Linked DNA regions of Homo sapiens: region 2 is linked to region 1. Evidence: promoter capture Hi-C in 16 types of primary human blood cells and fetal thymus (Javierre and others, 2016). All regions are on one chromosome and are shown on one strand. Each heading gives the region's core, a stretch centred on a gene start or on the middle of the fragment in contact. The rest is flanking DNA. Distances are from core to core; before and after follow the strand shown. Region 1 holds the start of TIMM8A (translocase of inner mitochondrial membrane 8A). Region 2 overlaps BTK (Bruton tyrosine kinase).

Region 1 (3,550 bases), core at 877-3,376:
ATTGATGACCATTGGTTCTAACAGATTGAGAGCATTCTGGCATGAATGTTCCCTGAACCACTAAATACCAAATACCTCGGGGGCTTATGGGCCATGGCCATCAAAAAGAACCTTAGTCGTAGGCCGGGCGCGGTGGCTCACGCCTGTAATCCCAGCACTTTGGGAGGCTGAGGCGGGGGAATTACCTTAGGTCAGGAATTCGAGACTAGTCTGACCAACATGGTGAAACCCGGTCTATACTAAAAATACGAAAATTAGCTGGGCGTGATGGCGTGCACCTGTAATCCCAGCTACCTGGGAGGCTGAGGCAGGAAAATCGCTTGAACCTGGGAGGTGGCAGTGAGCTGAGCTCACACCACTGCACTCCAGCCTGGACAACAGGGTGAGACTCTGTCTCAAAAAGAAAAAAAAAAAAAAACCTTAGTCTTTTTGTTACCAGTGGTAAAAAAAAAAAAAAAAAAAAAAAGGTCCCAGGTACTCAGAATCCCTGCTCAGTAATACAGCCTGTGGTTTTGAAATATTAATCACTAAAAATTATCACATGGGATTTCTGTTCTGCCAACCACTTGAACTTGTTTGGTAGCCATTTTTCACTTGAGGATCCAAAATAAGAATGTGTTGTATACAGTTACATAATGAACTTGCCCTCAATTTTGATCAGTGTGATTGTCAGTTTAATTTGCAAATTGTTCTTATCACACTAATAACCTGAGTTACTAAAGATGAAAAGTGCACAAAGACTTTATGGAGAGCTGCTATTTCTTTTTTTTTTTTTTTTCCTTTTGTAATCGACAGGGCATGCTACTGGGCATAGAGCATATATTTAATAAACATTTGCTGCTTACTCATTGCATTTCCCTTGAATTCTGGATTCTAGCCACTCTAACACTTTACTTTTTCTTTGGTTTTAGAAAGCAGATGAGCGTCCCACTTTCAAAATTCTTCTGAGCAATATTCTAGATGTCATGGATGAAGAATCCTGAGCTCGCCAATAAGCTTCTTGGTTCTACTTCTCTTCTCCACAAGCCCCAATTTCACTTTCTCAGAGGAAATCCCAAGCTTAGGAGCCCTGGAGCCTTTGTGCTCCCACTCAATACAAAAAGGCCCCTCTCTACATCTGGGAATGCACCTCTTCTTTGATTCCCTGGGATAGTGGCTTCTGAGCAAAGGCCAAGAAATTATTGTGCCTGAAATTTCCCGAGAGAATTAAGACAGACTGAATTTGCGATGAAAATATTTTTTAGGAGGGAGGATGTAAATAGCCGCACAAAGGGGTCCAACAGCTCTTTGAGTAGGCATTTGGTAGAGCTTGGGGGTGTGTGTGTGGGGGTGGACCGAATTTGGCAAGAATGAAATGGTGTCATAAAGATGGGAGGGGAGGGTGTTTTGATAAAATAAAATTACTAGAAAGCTTGAAAGTCTTTGGTATCTCTATTAATCATGCAGCCTCCCTGAAGCGCCCTATCTCAGTATTCCAGAAAGCTGCTGTGTAGCATTAGTTTGGCATATTCCTACACTGAGAACTCGACAGGATCCTCCAGGTTTAAGCCCTCTTGTTAACTCCTGCCTCTGAATCAAAGATGCATTAAGCAAAAACAGTGCCTGTCACAGCACGCATGCAATGTTATTTGAATGAATCTGAAAGTTGGGCACAAACTGCCATAGCCTCATTTCCCTACGTCGGGAGAGGAAAACTCCATCAAAAAACGAAAGCCAGGGGCCCAGGATAGCCAACTAATCGACCCAGTCAACTAACTGACCCAGTGCACAACTCTGGTAGCTCAGAAAACGCGGGCTAATTTGGAAGTGGACAGGGGCGGAGCTGTGGGGCCAGCACGGAATGGATCACGTGGTCTGAAGTAACTTCCTTTTCTCCTTTCTTTTCTTTTTGGAGTAACATCTCAACGGCACCTCGGCTCTGGGCTGTAAGCCCTGCGATCTCAAGGCGCAAGGCTGGGCGCAACGGCAGGGTTGCGGGGTTACGGGATTGCGGGGTCCGGGGAGTGGAACCCGCCGACTCCGGGAACGAAGCACCGGCGCCAAGGTGTGGGAGGCGGCGGGGTGGAGTTGGACGCCTGCCTCGCGCCGACGCAGTGCACTCACGGGGGCGGTCCCAGAGGCAGCTAGCTGTGGTTCCGGTTCCGTCGCGGAGACACGTGAAGGTCGGTGCGGAGTTCGTCTCTGCAAGCTTGGTCGCCCTGGGATGGATTCCTCCTCCTCTTCCTCCGCGGCGGGTTTGGGTGCAGTGGACCCGCAGTTGCAGCATTTCATCGAGGTAGAGACTCAAAAGCAGCGCTTCCAGCAGCTGGTGCACCAGATGACTGAACTTTGTTGGGTGAGGAGCCTGGGGCTGGGACCTGAACACTGTACCTACTTTCCCTCTGTCCTTGTACCGCGGGACTCGCGACAACGTCGGGGATTCGGGGTGGGGGGCGGGCACCTGGCAGCAACCCTTGATTTTCTCAGGTTCCTGTGGCCTAGCCGGATGGGAGAAGGGTGACTCCGCTTCTCTGGGGACTGTCATTCCGGACCTCGGCTTTGTTGGTGTAGAGGACTGGGTATCAAAGAAGACTTATGCCACTGGACACCCAGCACTTTCAGGCACCCGAGGTTGAAGCTGCCTAGTGCTGGTCACCAAGACTGATCGGAGCCCCCAGTACTGGGATTTTATTTTTGGCAGCCCGAGTCCCAGAGAGTCAGTGAATCAGTGAATCTGCTATTCCTGGACTCCTCGGGATTTACCTTCATTACCCAGTTCTAACCCTCTCCGCTGAAAAATGAGTGGCTCCAGCCCAGTAACTATAAAAGTGGTGTAATCTCTTCCAACGTACATACTTATTTGCTTTCTTGTTGGATTGTTGTGTAATACCAAGCCGTTTTGGGTCTGAAGGTTGAGGAATTGAGCCTGCCCTGTGAGGGGACTTTGGCAAAAGGGTGGAAGGTATTTGCAGCTTGCCAACAACGTGTTCTGCTTGCCAAGGACAGATCTCCCTTAATGTACACAATTCACAGAATTCAGAGGCCAAGGATAATTTTCCTTGGAATTAGAGGGTCTGAGGCTTGTGTACATGGCAGAGAATAATGAACGAAATTTTTGAACCACTTAACTTGAACTATATACAGTCATTGGTTTCCATAGGCCCTTTCCCATAAACTTACAGTATTGCTGGACTATGACACCTACCAGATGCTTACTTAACTCTGGTCTGCCTTGGACCAGAGTGCTTTGATTCTTTTTTAAAAATATCTGTGATTCGTTACTTTGGGGCTAGGAGGGCGTGTGGTTAAGTACTATTGCAAGAATCTGTAAGCTGCCCGGCGCGGTGGCTCATGCCTGTAATCCCAGCACTTTGGGAGGCGGGTGGATCACTTGAGGTCAGGAGTTCGAGACCAGTCTGGGCAACACGGCGAAGCCCTGTCTCTACTAAAAATAGAAAAAATTAGCTGGGCGGGGTGGCACCCGCCTGTAATCCCAGCTACTCAGGAAGCTGAGGCACGAGAATGGCTTGAACCTGGCGGAGGTTACAGTGAGATCATGCCACTGCACTCC
Region 2 (3,929 bases), core at 217-2,716, 34 kb before region 1:
TAGTAGAGACGGGGTTTCTCCATGTTGGTCAGGCTGGTCTCGAACTCCCAACCTCAGGTGATCTGCCTGCTTGGGCCTCCCAAAGTGCTAGGATTACAGGCGTGAGCCACCGCACCCACCCTGGAATTCTTTGTAAACTCCTTATGGTGCGAACTAATGTAACTTTCCATCCAGTTATGGGGGATTGGTGCAATTTTAAATTATCACTATGATTTGCTATTTCCATTTGAGCAAATTTCCTATAGAGTTTCCTTTCAGTGGACTAGACCCATATCAGGAAGTGACTTAGGTATAAAGGGAAGATACAGCTTTCGAAAACCAAAGTTTGGGCGTTCTCCAAAGAGTTATCAGATACCCCCTTCTACACCCACAATGATCTGATTGCTGAGATCTGATTGCTAACTACTGAAAATAAGGAAGAACTAGAATTTTCAGTGACACAGTGCTCAGCAAGAAGCTAGAAAAGAGGCCTTGACATATTTGACTCCAAAGCTACTTGGTTATGCATGAAGCCATCTGGGGAGGGGAAGGAGGAGGGAGAACTCCTCTGAGGACCCTGAAACAATTGGGCCACGTGTGACTTTCAGTTTCTATGGAGATTCATGTGCAGTGGCTGAGGGCAATCTGAGAGCATTGGAAACCCAGAAGCTTTAATACCAGGCTCTTCTCTCCGCTCTTAGAAAGTTCTCACAAGATGTCTTTAGGATTATATTGGTTATTTGAATCTCAAGGAGAAGCTCCTCTCACTGCCCTACCTCCCTGAACTGAAAACAAACTGTAGTCTGTTAGCTCACCCTAGAAGAAGGAAATTCTAGAGTCAAGAGAAGTTAAGTTTTAGACAAGCTGGAAGTTGGAATATACTGGAGTTTAAGATCATTGACTCAATGAAAAAAAAAAAAGATTTGTCTGCAGTAAAACCAGAGTTTTAAAAATGATTAGAAATGGACCAGAAAAGAGATAAGGATAATGAGAAAGGGGGCTCTCTAAAACTATTTGGAACTGAAATTGGGACAATGTTTCTGGAAACTATTTTGGCAGTATGTATCAAAATGCAAAATGCACATACTTTTTTGACTCTGGAAATGATGCTTGTATAGAGATCCTAATAACATGGGAAAATAATTAGGAATAATGTTAAATAAGAACATTAGATCTTTTTTTGGAAAAAGGTACCTTGAACGGATGGATGGATGGATAGATACATACATACATGCATACATACATACATAGATGTTACGAAAAATAGGTAAATTAACTGAATGTGCAATATGATCTCAAATATTATAAGAAACACACACAGAAAAAAATGGAAGGAATATGCCGATATATTAATGCCTCTGGATGAGTTTATGAATGATTTTTTCTTTTTTATATCCCTGTACTTGACATATTTTCTACAATAAGCATGTTTTATTTTACTATATTTTGTTTTATTTTGAGATGGGGGTCTCCCTATGTTTCTCAGGCTGACCTTGAACTCTTGGGCTCAAGCAATCCTCCAATATCAGCCTCCTGAGTAGCTGGGACTACAGGTGCACCCCACTGCACCCAGCTGCGTGTGTTATTTTGATATCGATGGAAAAAATAAATAAAATGTTTAAGCCAAGGAAAACAAAAACTAGGTTGAAAAAGAAGGCCAAAAGGGCACACAAGTCCAGAGTGAAAGACAGACACCCCAGCAGTCACCCTCAGAGCAGAGGGAGAATATTGAAAGTATTACCACTGATCTGATCTGGCACTGACTATAAACTTGCAGATTGGCTCTCTGGCTCTCCTTCCATCATCAGTTGGCCAGAATATATTGTCGCTAATGCAAGACAAAAAGAGATGATGAATCACAGAGACCTAGAAGTTTCCAAAACCACAGAAGAAAAATGTAAAATGCTAAAAACATAAGGCCAGGCGCGGTGGCTCAAGCCTGTAATCCCAGCATTTTGGGAGGCCGAGGCAGGTGTCATGGTGTGCGGCTGTAGTCCAAGCTACTCAGGAGGCTGAGGCAAGAGAATTGCTTGAAACTGGGAGGTAGCGATTGCAGTGAGCCAAGATTGCGCTACTGTACCGAAGCCTGGATGACAGAGCGAGACTCTGTCTCAAAAATAAATAAATAAATAAATAAATAAATAAAACATGAACTGCTGTGGAAGAACCAGAGAGCCCTAAGGCCTCCTGTAAATGACTACAGCAGGAGAGTTTCCCTGGTCAGCATGCAGCTTTCGAAAATTGAGTTTGGCTTGATGCCTTCATCACAAATTTGGTCCCCTGTAGCCTTGACTATGAAGCTTATCATAAAATAATTGGGTTTCACTGGGGCCCGAACAAAAGCATCTTGGGAATTTAACAAGATTAAAGGTTGCTTTGTTGCTGTGGGTATGATTTTTTTTTCTTTTTTCTTTTTTTTTTTTTTTGAGACGGAGTCTGACTCTGTCACCCAGGCTGGAGTGCAGTGGCACGATCTCGGCTCACTGCAACCTCCGCCTCCTGGGTTCAAGCAATTCTCCTGCCTCAGCCTCCTGAGTAACTGGGATTACAGGTGCGCGCCACCACGCCAGGCTAATTTTTGTATTTTTAGTAGAGACAGGGTTTCTCCATGTTGGTCAGGCTGGCTGCTCTCAAACTCCTGACCTTGCCATCCAGCCGCCTCAGCCTCCCAAAGTGCTGGGATTACAGGCATGAGCTACCACACGTGGCCATATGTAAATTTTAAACATGTAAACCAATACTGTATATCTTTTATAGATATTTACATCTGTAATGATAATATGAAAACGTACCTAGGAATGATAAACACCAAATTCAAGATATTGGTAATCTCTAAGGAGGGAGAAGACTAAGATTTTGGAGTACATAAAGGGGTCTTGATTATATAGATAGTATTTCAGTTCTTAACACGTTCTCTTCTGGTCCCAAGGCCAAGGAATTCTCAATTGAAATCTCAGTTAGAACGTGAAGGATGCTTCTTGGGACTGGGAAGAGATTTTCCGTAGGCCAAATTTAACCTCCCACTAGAGATAGTTGATAATTCTACCACATTTCATAGTGAAGCATCAGGAAGACAGGACTGAAAAGGCAAGAAGGAATGATGCAAATTGCATAGTCCAAAAGATAAGCTGGACCTAGGTTTGCCAGTTTGTCTAAGTAACTGAGAATTCATTCTGAGATCAAAAAATCAAAATAATGTTCACAGCAGCATTGTTTATCACTGAAAGCAAACAACCTAAATGTCCATCAACAGGAGAATGAATAAATATATTGGAATGTATTCATCATATAGAATATTTTATGCATATAAAAATGAATTAAAACATATGAAGTAGAACTAGCCAGATAAATAAATCCTAACATATTATATTGAGGGGAAAAAAGCAAGTTGCTGGAGAATGTGTACCATATATATATATATAAATTTTCTTTTTTTTTTTTTTTTTTTTTCGCGACCGAGTTTCACTCTTGTTGCCCAGGCTGGAGTGCAATGGCAAGATCTCGGCTCACTGCAACCTCTGCCTCCCGGGTTCAAGGGATTCTCCCGCCTCAGCCTCCTGAGTAGCTGGGAGAGTAGCGTTGGCCCAGCTAGTTTTTGTATTTTTAGTAGAGACAGGGTTTCTCCATGTTGGTCAGGCTGGCTGCTCTCAAACTCCTGACCTTGTCATCCACCCGCCTCAGCCTCCCAAAGTGCTGGGATTACAGGCCTGAGTTACCGCACCTGGCCATATGTAAATTTTAAACATGTAAACCAATACTATATATCTTTTATAGATACTTACATCTGTAATAATAATATGAAAACATACCTAGGAATGATAAACACCAAACTCAAGATATTGGTAATCTCTATGGAGGGAGAAGACTAAGATTTTGGAGTACATAAAGGGGTCTTGATTATATAGATTGTATCTCACTTCTTAACACGTGAGGCAATATGGCACAATTTT

Evidence for each region. Contacts are between HindIII fragments. The CHiCAGO score rates a contact against its expected background, and 5 or more counts as called.
Region 2: a contact is called between a fragment that was not itself captured here and the fragment with the promoter of TIMM8A in region 1, in 2 of 17 cell types (total B cells and megakaryocytes). The highest score is 6.0, in total B cells.

Annotation. Positions count from the first base shown.
Region 1 is chrX:101,347,318-101,350,867 of GRCh38, reverse strand. TIMM8A (translocase of inner mitochondrial membrane 8A) reads left to right here and starts at 2,126. Exons shown (of 2, transcript NM_004085.4): 1 at 2,126-2,335. The coding sequence starts at 2,204. It overlaps BTK (Bruton tyrosine kinase), which reads left to right. Exons shown (of 19, transcript NM_000061.3): 19 at 912-1,418. The coding sequence ends at 983. RefSeq lists an enhancer at 2,155-2,204. The HindIII fragment of the contact is 777 bases long and covers 1,414-2,190 here.
Region 2 is chrX:101,380,508-101,384,436 of GRCh38, reverse strand. All of the region lies in intron 1 of BTK (Bruton tyrosine kinase), which reads left to right. Among named protein-coding and RNA genes, the nearest start is that of BTK, 3.7 kb to the left of the region's middle. The HindIII fragment of the contact is 1,631 bases long and covers 651-2,281 here.